2 separate regions of the Homo sapiens genome follow, and region 2 is linked to region 1. The links are contacts of gene promoters, found by promoter capture Hi-C in human tissues and cell types (Jung and others, 2019). All regions are on one chromosome and are shown on one strand. Each heading gives the region's core, a stretch centred on a gene start or on the middle of the fragment in contact. The rest is flanking DNA. Distances are from core to core; before and after follow the strand shown.

Region 1 (5,185 bases), core at 1,680-4,179:
AATGAACTTCAGAATCACTTGGGGAGCTTTTGAAAAAAAATACCAATACCTGGCCCTGGGTATATGGGGCAGAAACATTAAATCAGAATATCTAGGGGGCGAGCTCAGACATGGGTTTAAAAAATACTCATATCAACCTGTGTACCCTTCCATAAGAGCCACGGACGTGTGTAGTAATGTAGTCAAGGTCAGAGGAACTTCCTCACGTACTGGAGAAATTTGCACCCCTCCTTCCTTCCCCAGGCAGCAGGCTTCCTCCTTGCAATCCGCCTGCCGCCTACAGGCGTCGCTGAGGGACAGCTGGCCCAGTTTGCGGATTTTCCTCCGGATCCCACACCCATGTCCAGGGAAAGCCGGAGCCACGGCGGTATAAATTAGCGCCTTTATTTTGATCACCTGAGCGAGCGCCCGCGGCTCGCCCGCCTGCGGTATAAACGTACAAATTCCCTGTAGCACCACACACCATGCCTCAGAGATAAATACAGCCCCAGGGGCTCCTGCTCTGGCAAAGCAACTCTTATTTACAGGAATAGATTACAAAAGTATTACAAAAAGTGGTCCTGAACCGGGAAACGGGTTGGGGGTGGGTTACGGTTACACCTGCTACATTTGGGACCGGAGTGCACTGGGTCTCACGCCCCCCCAAATAACCGGTGCATCCCGGGGCAGGGCTTAGGTCTGCGAGGGTCTCACCCCCATGGGGGAGGGCGCGAGAAAGCTGAACCTAGCCCCTCAAGGTTCAGCTCTGGCCCACCGAGGAACACGGAGCGGCCATCGCAATGGGTCTCCGAGAAGGGTGCTGCGTGGAAAAAACCGCGCTGTGTCCTTGCCCTGTGGGGCGGGGGCGGAAACTTCAGTTCTCCCGCCTCTCCTACCTCAAGAGAGGTCGCTTTTAAAGCGCTGTTGGGAGGGGGGCATTTAAGTTCAATCTTTTGGGCGCGAGGGACCCTAGGGGCACCATCCCTCGGGCGGGTGGGCGGCCACCATCCCCTCAGAGCACCTGGTATATCGGGTTGGGGTTCGCACCCGCAGGGCACTGCGGGGCGGCGTCCGGTGACTGGGTGGGGTCGCCGCTGCTCTCTCCCTCGCTGGGGGCGGCAGCCTCTTGCCTGCGCGGAGGCGACTCAGAAGGCACGTCCGCCAGCAGGAGGGCGGGCGCCGCAGGGCTCTCGGTGGAGATGCGCTCCACGATGCTGGACAGGCAGTCTAGGCTCGACACCGCCGCACTCTTCCCGGGCCTGGGTTCTGCGCGGGGAGGGCTCGGTTAGTAAGCAGGGGTGGGGCCGCGACAAGCCTCCCACCCCCGGGCCCAGTACTTTGAGACAGATTGGAAACTGAGGACTTTAGTTAGAGTCCGGGACAATCCAAAAGACAGGGAGCTACTTGCTTAGTATTTCATCTCCTGCACCACTTCCCAGGACATAGGCGTGTGTGAGTGGGGGTGGGAGCGTCCTAGATAGAGGCCAGGACAGCTCCATGAAGGAGGAGGAGCGAGCAGGGAGAGGCCCGGAATACCCACCGCTGGGCGCCTCGTTGTAGTAGGCGCCTTCGTAGCAGTTCCGCCGCCGGGCGCCGCTCGGGGGGCCGCTGTAGTCCATCTGCAAACAGCAAGGGCGACTGAGTCAGGCCCGCGGGACGGCTCGAGGCCCGAACACCAATTCCTGTAGCCGCCCCCTCCCTAACTCTAGCCTAAGGCTCTAGTTCCGGGCCCAGACCTGTCCTGGTTGGGGGGGTAATTACGGGTGGGTAGGAGATGAGGTCTGCAACATGCAGGGCCAAACCAAGGGCGGACAGTCACCAAGGGGCGCAAATTTACATTTTGGAAGTAGGGATAAGTAGAGAAAAAGATCTTCACGTTCGCGCTGCAGTGTTCTAATAGCGCCCCCAATGGGGCAGCTCGAACGCTTGCCCGCACACTTCCAAAACAGGCTACCCCAGTGACAGCTGCCCAGGACAAGGGGGTCCTCTCTCTCGGGAAGGATCCTGGCCCAAACCTCCCGCAAGGCCAGCTCCCCGCCCTCGGAAACGCGTCCCTGATATCCCGAGCGCCGCCCTAACTTCCTCACTTCCTGGGGTCCCGGCCTTACCATGCCGTCGGAGCAGTTGGAGCGCGGGCTGGACGCGTCGGAGTCGCCGCTGTAGTGCTCGCCGCCGCGGCCCGGGGGCAGCGGGCCCGGCGCATAGAAGGCGGCTGCGGCGCCAGGGGGCGCGGCGTCCTGGTCGCGCAGCAGAGCCTGCAGGCCCTCGATATAGCGGATGGCGTTGCGCAGGATCTCCACCTTGGGCAACCGCTGGTTTGGATTGCTCGACGTGCAGCGCTTGAGTGTCTCAAAGGCCTCATTTACTTTGCTCAGGCGGCGCCGCTCGCGCATGGTGGCGGCCTTGCGGCGGTCGGCGTTGGTGGTCTTGCGCTTGCACGCCTTGCAGGCCCACAGTAGGCAGCGGCCCGCCTGGTGGTGCCCGCTGGGCGCGCGCACATGCTCGTCCTCACGTGCGCCCGGGGCCGGGTGCACCGCCGCGGGGAAGTGCGAGTGCTCTTCGGGTTTCAGGAGCGCGCCCACGTGCATCAGGCGCGGGTCCAGGTCTTCGAAGAAGCGCAGGTCCGGGGAGTCGAAACACGGGTCGTCATAGAAGTCGTCCGTTGTGGCAAAGGAGCAGAGAGAGCCGTCGGGGGCCGTCAGGTCTACGTCGCGGAGCGGTGGCGACAGTAGCTCCATATCCTGGCGGTGGCGCGGCACGGTCCTGGCTTCGCCCAACCCAAGCGGCAGAGAGTGGCCGGAACTTTCTGCCGCTCGGGAGCCCCGGCTGTAGATAGCAAAGTGCTGGCAGTCTGAATGCCCACCCACTGTCCCCCACCCCTCCCTCTCCTGTCCGGCCTGATTTGTGGTTAAGGAAAGCGGCGGCAGCGCCCCAGGGCTTCCTCACCCCTAGCTTCTCGCCAGGCGCCCTGGGCTATTTATCCGTAGTAGCCTAAACGCCCCGGAGCCCAGGCGGGCAGCTGGGGGAGGGGGAGTCCGAGGCCAATAGGAACACTGCGGGGCGGGGCTTGGGGGGGTCCCCGGGGTGGCCGCAGGGGCCCGCAGACTGGCCAGCCAGCCCGCCCCTCCACACTGGCGTGCGCGCTAGGTCCCCTACCGGGCAGGGAGGGAGGGAGCGACCGGCAGCCCTAGGCGGCTGCACTTGGCTCTCCGGCACGCCCTTTCCAAACCTCTCCAACACCCGACTGCTGTATCCGCGGGAAACGCTGGCTGCGCGCGCTCACCTCTGAGCTGACTTTCAATACTCCTCTGTCCCCTGATTTGTGGGGGACCCATGGGTAGAGCGGCTGTAGAAATCAGGTCGTGAGAGATTTGGAGAGAGGCAAGGCATTGGGGGCACAGAGCTGAGGAGTGAGACCGTGAAAGAGGGACCGAAAGAGGCTGAGAGACACGCAGAAAGCAGAAAGCTTAGAGCGTCAGGGGCAGAGAAACGCACGAGTGCAACAACAGGCGGAGAGACCCCGAGAGTTGAAGTGGGCGAGCCCGAGACAAACGGGTCGTAGAGGCTCTGATATTCCGCCAGTCCCCGACCTGGGAGTTGCTCAGCAGGTCGTGGGCCCAGTCCTTCTTCCCTAGACGCTTAGAAACCCAGCTATGGTTGTACAGGAATCGGAGATTGCTGCTAAAGCTTCGCGCCAATCTCTCCAAACTCGGATCCTGCCCAGGTTAGGAATCCCCTCCATCTAAATCTGCACGTTTCCACAGCAGGGGTGTCCAGTGCCATGCCTGGGGTCTAGGCTGAGCTGCCTCTTCAGCTGGGAAGAAAACCCTTCTGCTCGGGGCTTGGCTCCGCCTCACTCGCGGTGCTGAGTCAAGGAAAGTGCATTTCGCCAAGGTGTCAAACTTCAGGACCTGGCCTGAGAACCTGACCTCATCTCACCTGAAGTCTCCGAGAGTGCGGTTTGCAGACCAGTTGAGTGCAGACTCCAGAGTTTCCCAACTGTGTGATTTTGTGGAAGTCATGTCTCCTTCCTGAGCCTCAGTTTCCAGTTATAGATTTGGGGATGACAGTAATTTCTTGGAGTAATTGTGGTGGGGATGACAGTCTGAAGAGACCAAGGATATGGAAGCCCTCAGGCGGTGATGTAGGGTTATTCGAGCAAGGGGCTTTCAGAGTTGGATGCTGTGTCCCGCAGGCTTACAACTCATCTGTGGTACCATGCCCTGACGGAGTGCCACGAGTCTCCAGGCCTTAGCTGTGTCTCTTTCCTGCAGCCTCACTGGAAAGGCTGGAAACAGGAGGAGGCAACCACCCCATGGGATGTGGGATATCTGGCTCCCATACAAGCCTCAGCATACCGGCCACCCCCATGGGGGTCTCTCAGCCTCTTCCTGAATCTGCAGTTCACACAGTCCTCTCAGCACTCTGGCTAGGAATCTCCGTTGGCCATACATCCCTGCCTGGATCTCCCCTCCTGGAAACCAGAAATTTAAGCAGGAGTGATCTTTGTGCCTTTCCCACTAACTTCTGGAAGGCATTCTAGCTGGCCGTTCTGGGCCCTAAGAAGTCCTCCCTTCCCACAAAACTCAGAGGGCTCTGTTGGGGTCCTAACTTCTTCACTTCTCTGCTGCTGGTAGTGGTGCTGAAGGTCTCCCTTCATGAAGTACTCACCTCGCTTTACTCCATAGGGCCCACCTGTATTTGTTCATTCAGTAAAGTCTACATCATGGAGCAGCAGTGACAGTAACTCTAAATCCTGGCAGAGGCAGCAAAGTCCTGGCCTCACCCCACCCAAGCTGCAGGGGGTCACCCGGAAATCCACATATTGTTAGGTATCCATTATGTGGCAGGTACCAGTCCAAGTGTGGGGCTAGAGCAATGAACAAAACCAAGACTCTGCTTACATGGCACTTACATTGTCAATGTAAGCAGGGTGATAGACAATGAACAAATAAGCAAGGAAGTATGTGATGCCAGGAGGTTAGAAGCCTTATGAAGAAAAAGCAAGGCAGGGAGACACAGTGATGAAGATTATGGAGTGATTAGAGAAGGCCTCTCTGCTACATTTAAGCAGAGACCTGAATGAAGAGAATTGGAAGCAGATACCTGGAGATATGTAGGGCCAGATAGAGGGATAAGCATGTGCAAAAGTCCTGAGGCAGGACCATGTTTGGCAGATTCAAAGTATGGCAAGGAGGCTCATATG
Region 2 (5,185 bases), core at 1,315-3,814, 170 kb before region 1:
GTAATTAAGAAGTAATCTGTGAAGAGATACTTTAAGACTATGTGAATACCCTTTTCCTCTTCAGACTTTTGCCCAGTAGTTTTAACATGCATTGATGATTCTTGTCTGAATTAACTAATGATTGCAAAATTATTTTCTAGCCCAATTATTCTTTTACATTTATTATTTTTGGCATCCTACTATAAGAAAGAGCTTTCCCTGCTTCCCTATCTATCTATTGCTCAGTATATACAGTGGATTTTTATTTTATTCAATGGGCTATAATCTACTGTCATTATTCATTTTGGAGCTCAAGTTCTCCCTGATTTAGCTAGTGGGAGCTGTTTCAGGCTGGCTAGTTTCCTTTTGACACGTCTCCTTTACTCTTTTATCACTTTCTTACTTCGTGGTACAAATACATGTTCCAGGCTCAAACTGTTCTTTCCTCATCCCAACCCTAGAATCAGCCTTTTCTCCGAGGAGCTCTGATCCCTCTTAGTTGAATGGTATTTAAAAGCCAGGGTCTGTGCACCAAGTAAACTCATTGCTGCTGGGGTGTCAGTGCTGCTGGGCAATTTCATGTTGGTTTAACTCAATGCGTGTGTGTGTGTGTGTGTGTGTGTGTGTGTGTGTGTGTGTGTGTGTGTGTAAAACTGTGAGTTCATACTGATAACTCTAATTCTAACCTGATATCCACAGGGTTTCTCTTTGCCTTCTCTCATTCTATATTTGTGTTTCCTTCAACTACAGTGAGCATTCTGGCTCCTAGCAACATTCATATATTTCCTCATTTGCATGGTCCCACAATATATACAAAATACTTTCAGAATTGATACACGCATGCAATGAAAGAAAATAACCTACAAAGTAGTTAAATTTTTTTTGCATTGTTTGTTTGTAAACAGAAGTTATTTAGTCAAAGTACTGTGTTCAAGAGTTATTCTGACCCCCTTCAGAGCAGTTATATTATTTATTTGAAATCAGTTTTGCCTACTTTTGAGTTTCATATTATTATTCTTAAAGATTTACTTATGTTGTGAATATCAATATTTCCCCCCACTGCTGTAAAGCAGCAGTCCCCAACCTTTTTGGCACTAGGGGCCGGTTTCCTGGAAGAGGTGGGGATGGGATGGTTTCGGGATGAAACTGTTCCACCTCAGATCACCAGGCATTAGTTAGAGTCTCATAAGGATTGCGCAGCCTAGATCCCTCCCACGCGGAGTTCACAATAGGGTTTGTGCTCATATGAGAATCTAATGCCACCGCTGATCTGACAGGAGGCGGAGCTCAGATGGTAATGTGAGCGATGGGAAGCAGCCGTAAATACAGATGAAGCTTCGCTCCCTTGCCTGCTGCTTACCTCCTGCTGTGTGGCCTGGTTCCTAACAGGCCGTGGAATTTTACCAGTCTGCAGCCTAGGGGTTGGGGACCCCTGCTGTAAAGTATTCTGAATGAACTACACTGTATCCATTATACTGATGATGAATATTTGTGTTATTTCATATTTTTATTATGAATAAAACTGCTATGAACATGCTTGTACATGCCTTTTGATAGAAGTAAGCAATAATTTATTTTGGGTACTTGAGTGTCCACATATGTGTTTAGCTTTAGTAGATACTGCCAGACAGTTTTTCCAAGCAGTTGTTGAATTTACACTCCCGTCAGCAGTGTAAGAGTTCCAGTTATTTCACATCCTCGTTAGTACTTGGTGTTGACAGTCTTTTAATTTTAACCTATCATGGCTACTAGGGAAAGGGTTAAATTGTTTCTGAGAAGCCTGCCATAGGATATTTACCTGGCCTGAATCTATTAATTGCCTGTCTTTTAGTTTGATTGTCCAACTCACATGGTTCCATTTTGTTCTCAGTACAAGTACTGAGTAACTTAAGTAACTTGGTGGCATGCCTTTACTGAAATCCAGATGTATTGTTGTGTTAGGCTTTTTTAGTTGGCAAGGACCAGAGATATTAGCAGATTATTATTGTGAAGACTGTATTGTACTTTAGCATAAGTGAGGAAAACAGGTGAAGCAAATGCCTTATAAAAGAACAATGGGAAAGTCATTTAGAACCCAAGGCAACTCAAAAGCCTAAACCTTCTTGAGCCCTCAGCAGTAGGATCTATTGATTCTTCCTTTAGAACTCACATCCTGGTGACTTAGCTTCACTTTACTGTTCCTTCCTGCTGCTTCTGACTCCTCTGCTTGTACCTCCTCCTCATCTTAACCTTCCTTGTGTCTATTTCTTCCAGCTACTGCTCCAGCTACCAACTGGAGGACTCACTCCCTAGAACTGTTTCAAGGCAGAATTTTCACTAAGCCGTTTCACAGGCTGTGGTCAATCTATGCATTAATCCACATTGAGACAGGTGTCCATCCATAGTCCAATTAGGTTTGGCCCCAGGAAGCAGGACTGCATGGTATCAACACGGCCATTTATGATGAAGACATTCCCTTAGAAGGGCACTATGGGAAAAGCAAGCAGTCTGACTGCCTGGCTAGTTTAATTGTATATATTATAGCCTAATTACTGTGTATATTATATTCTAATTCAGTAGACATTTCTCAAGCCCTCTCCTTATCTGTCAATAAACTATTGGAAAAGGAAATGAACTGTTTATACTGAAGAAGGTTTTTTTGTTTGTTTGTTTTGTTTTGTTTTTAGTCTCGCTTTTAGTACTCGCCCAGGCTGGAGTACAGTGGTATGATCTCGGTTCACTGCAACCTTCGCCTCCCAGGTTAAGTGATCCTACCACACCACTTCAGTCTTCCAACTAGCTGGGACTACAGGCACACTTCACCACGCCGGGCTAATTTTGTTGTATTTTCTGTAGAGACAGGGTTTCGCCATGTTGCCCAGGCTGGTCTTGAACTCATGAGCTCAAGCTATCTGCTTGCCTCAGCCTCCTAAAGTGCCGGGATTACAGATGTGTGCCACCGTGTCCAGCTTGAAGAACTCTTCATAGTGAACCTATGCCAGTTGCTAATGCTTATAGTCTCCTTTCATATGTTCTCAAATAATATATAAGTCCTAAAATGTATCTGTAGAACAGGGTCAAGCCCAAAGTGAATTTTATTCTGTAGATAGCAGAGGTTAGGATGCGTGAGGTATACCTGGTTGTTTGAATTCCGTTTTACAGATGAGGGAACTGAGGGCCAGAGGGAGGCAAAGAGATTTACCCAAAGTCACATGGCTAGGAAGTGGGGGCGGGGGGCATCAGGACTTAAATCCAGGTTTTCTGGTTCCATATCCAGAACTCTCTCCATTACCTCACACTGACATGCCCCATACTCGTGTCCAAGCTGTTAAAAGCACAAAGGAGATTTGATAAAAGCAAACTATAGCCAAGGCAAGTGGTGAGAATTGAGAGGAGGCAGATCTCCTAAAGGCTGAGGTGATCTGGGGGACTGCCTCAGGTTTTGAACTAGGCCTTGTAGAGTTGGTTGGATTTAGAATGGTATGGAGAAGGGAGAATGGTACAAATGAAGATACAAAAGTGGGGGAAATGAGATTTTTCCAGAGACAGAAAAGAGACTCGTGTTGCTGGGTTAGAGGGTTTATTTAGGAAAGGAGTGGTAAAATGTGTGTTAAACAGTAATGAGACTTTGATAACTGTGACAACTTTAATTAAAAAAAAAATCAGATCATGCCCATGCATGTACGGTGGGTCATGCCTGTTATCCCAGAACTTTGAGAGGCCGAGGGAGGAGGGTCGCTTGAAGCCAGGAGTTCAAGCAGTCTGGACAACATGATGAGATCCTGTTCCTACAAGAAGTAAAAAAAAAAATTGGCCAGGCATAGTGGTGTGTACCTGTAGTCCTCGCTACTCAGGAAGCTAAGGCAGAAGGGTCGCTTGAGCCCAGGAATTCGAGGTTATAGTGAGCTAGGTTCACACCACTGCACTCCAGCCTGGGCAATAGAGCAAGACCCTGTCTCTAAAAACAAAAACAGATCAGATCATGATATTATGGTGAGAAGAAAGCTTAAAGTCATTGGTTGCTAAGACTCCAGGCTGAGGCGAAAAGGACTAAACTAAGATGATAGCAGCTGGAAATAAGTCAGACTTGAGAACCATTGAGAAGGCAGGATTAACAGGATCTGGAGACAGCCTAAATATAAGGGTGGGAGAGAGATAAGGAAAAGAGTTAGAACTGTCACTTGAGAGTTTGAGCCTTTGTGACAGGGACACTCTGTATCAAAAGAGGAGAGTATCAGAGGAGGAGGAGGCAGTATGTGTAGTGAGTTAGCTTACAGGCTTTGGACCAAAGCAGACCTGGGACCAGTGACTTAACTGCTCTGAGCGGGTTTGCTGGCCTGCTATGTAGGGAGACAGATTCCCACTTCTCAGAGTGGCTGTGAAGATGGGAGGTATTGCAGGTAAAGTGAAATTCTATAATGTCACATGCTTGACATCCAGGCACTTAACCAAACTTTAGCTCTCTTCTTCTCACCCCAACTTCTCTGGAAGATAGCAGAACCTAGTTCAAGCTCATTTTTTTCACAGGCATACATACAATGTGCTTTTTTTAAAAATGTATATATAACATATACACATATATATGAAATAAAATACAAATTCAAGCCCACAGAGAGAGTTAAAGATATCTTAGTAAGGCTAGGTTCTTCCAGAAGCAAACAGCCGTGCTGCCTCTCTGGTGTCGCCATGGCCTTCCCCAGTTGGGACCATTTCTGAGCTTAGAGGTGGAACTCTGGTGGCTCACTGGATTGCAGTGTGCCTGTAAAACGTGCCCAGCTTCCAAGCACTGCGTTTCTAATAGTTTGGAAATTCTGGTTGTCACCCCAGAGATACACGGATGGAAACCGGGTTTGGGCAGAGCTCTAGCAAAGGCGGCACCGAGACGCCCATTCCCTCGCCCTGTTAACCCAGGCGGCGCAGGCTGCCCAGCCAGCTGGGGCTGCCATTCTGGAGCTGCTTCTGGTACGCTTCTCCCACCCTGGCGGCTGTGCCCGCCAAGGGCTCGCAGTGCGGCACAGAGCATAACCCAGTACCGTACCAACCTAAACCCCGTTACTCCCCTTCCACCCTGGCCATCATGTGTTTCCGCACGTACGCCTCGTTGCCATAGCACCTGAAGGCGCCCGGGCTCATTGGCACCCGGCGAGAACCAATCAGCAGGCCTCGCTGTCCATCTGGCACCCTGGGTGGCCTTTGGGCTGCGGCTGGCTACCCCTCTCTGGTAGAG

Evidence for each region. Contacts are between HindIII fragments. The study calls those that stand out against the background at their distance.
Region 2: a fragment that was not itself captured here is called in contact with the fragment with the promoter of MYOD1 in region 1 in 2 of the 25 tissues and cell types used here (H1 embryonic stem cells and mesendoderm cells).

What each region holds. Positions count from the first base shown.
Region 1 is chr11:17,717,315-17,722,499 of GRCh38, reverse strand. MYOD1 (myogenic differentiation 1) reads right to left here and starts at 2,929. Exons shown (of 3, transcript NM_002478.5): 1 at 2,088-2,929; 2 at 1,520-1,598; 3 at 364-1,245. The coding sequence starts at 2,717. The coding sequence ends at 992. RefSeq lists enhancers at 957-1,468, 1,469-1,980. The HindIII fragment of the contact is 9,376 bases long and covers 1-5,185 here.
Region 2 is chr11:17,884,072-17,889,256 of GRCh38, reverse strand. The region is part of intron 9 of SERGEF (secretion regulating guanine nucleotide exchange factor); the gene reads left to right. Among named protein-coding and RNA genes, the nearest start is that of SERGEF, 130 kb to the left of the region's middle. The HindIII fragment of the contact is 4,469 bases long and covers 330-4,798 here.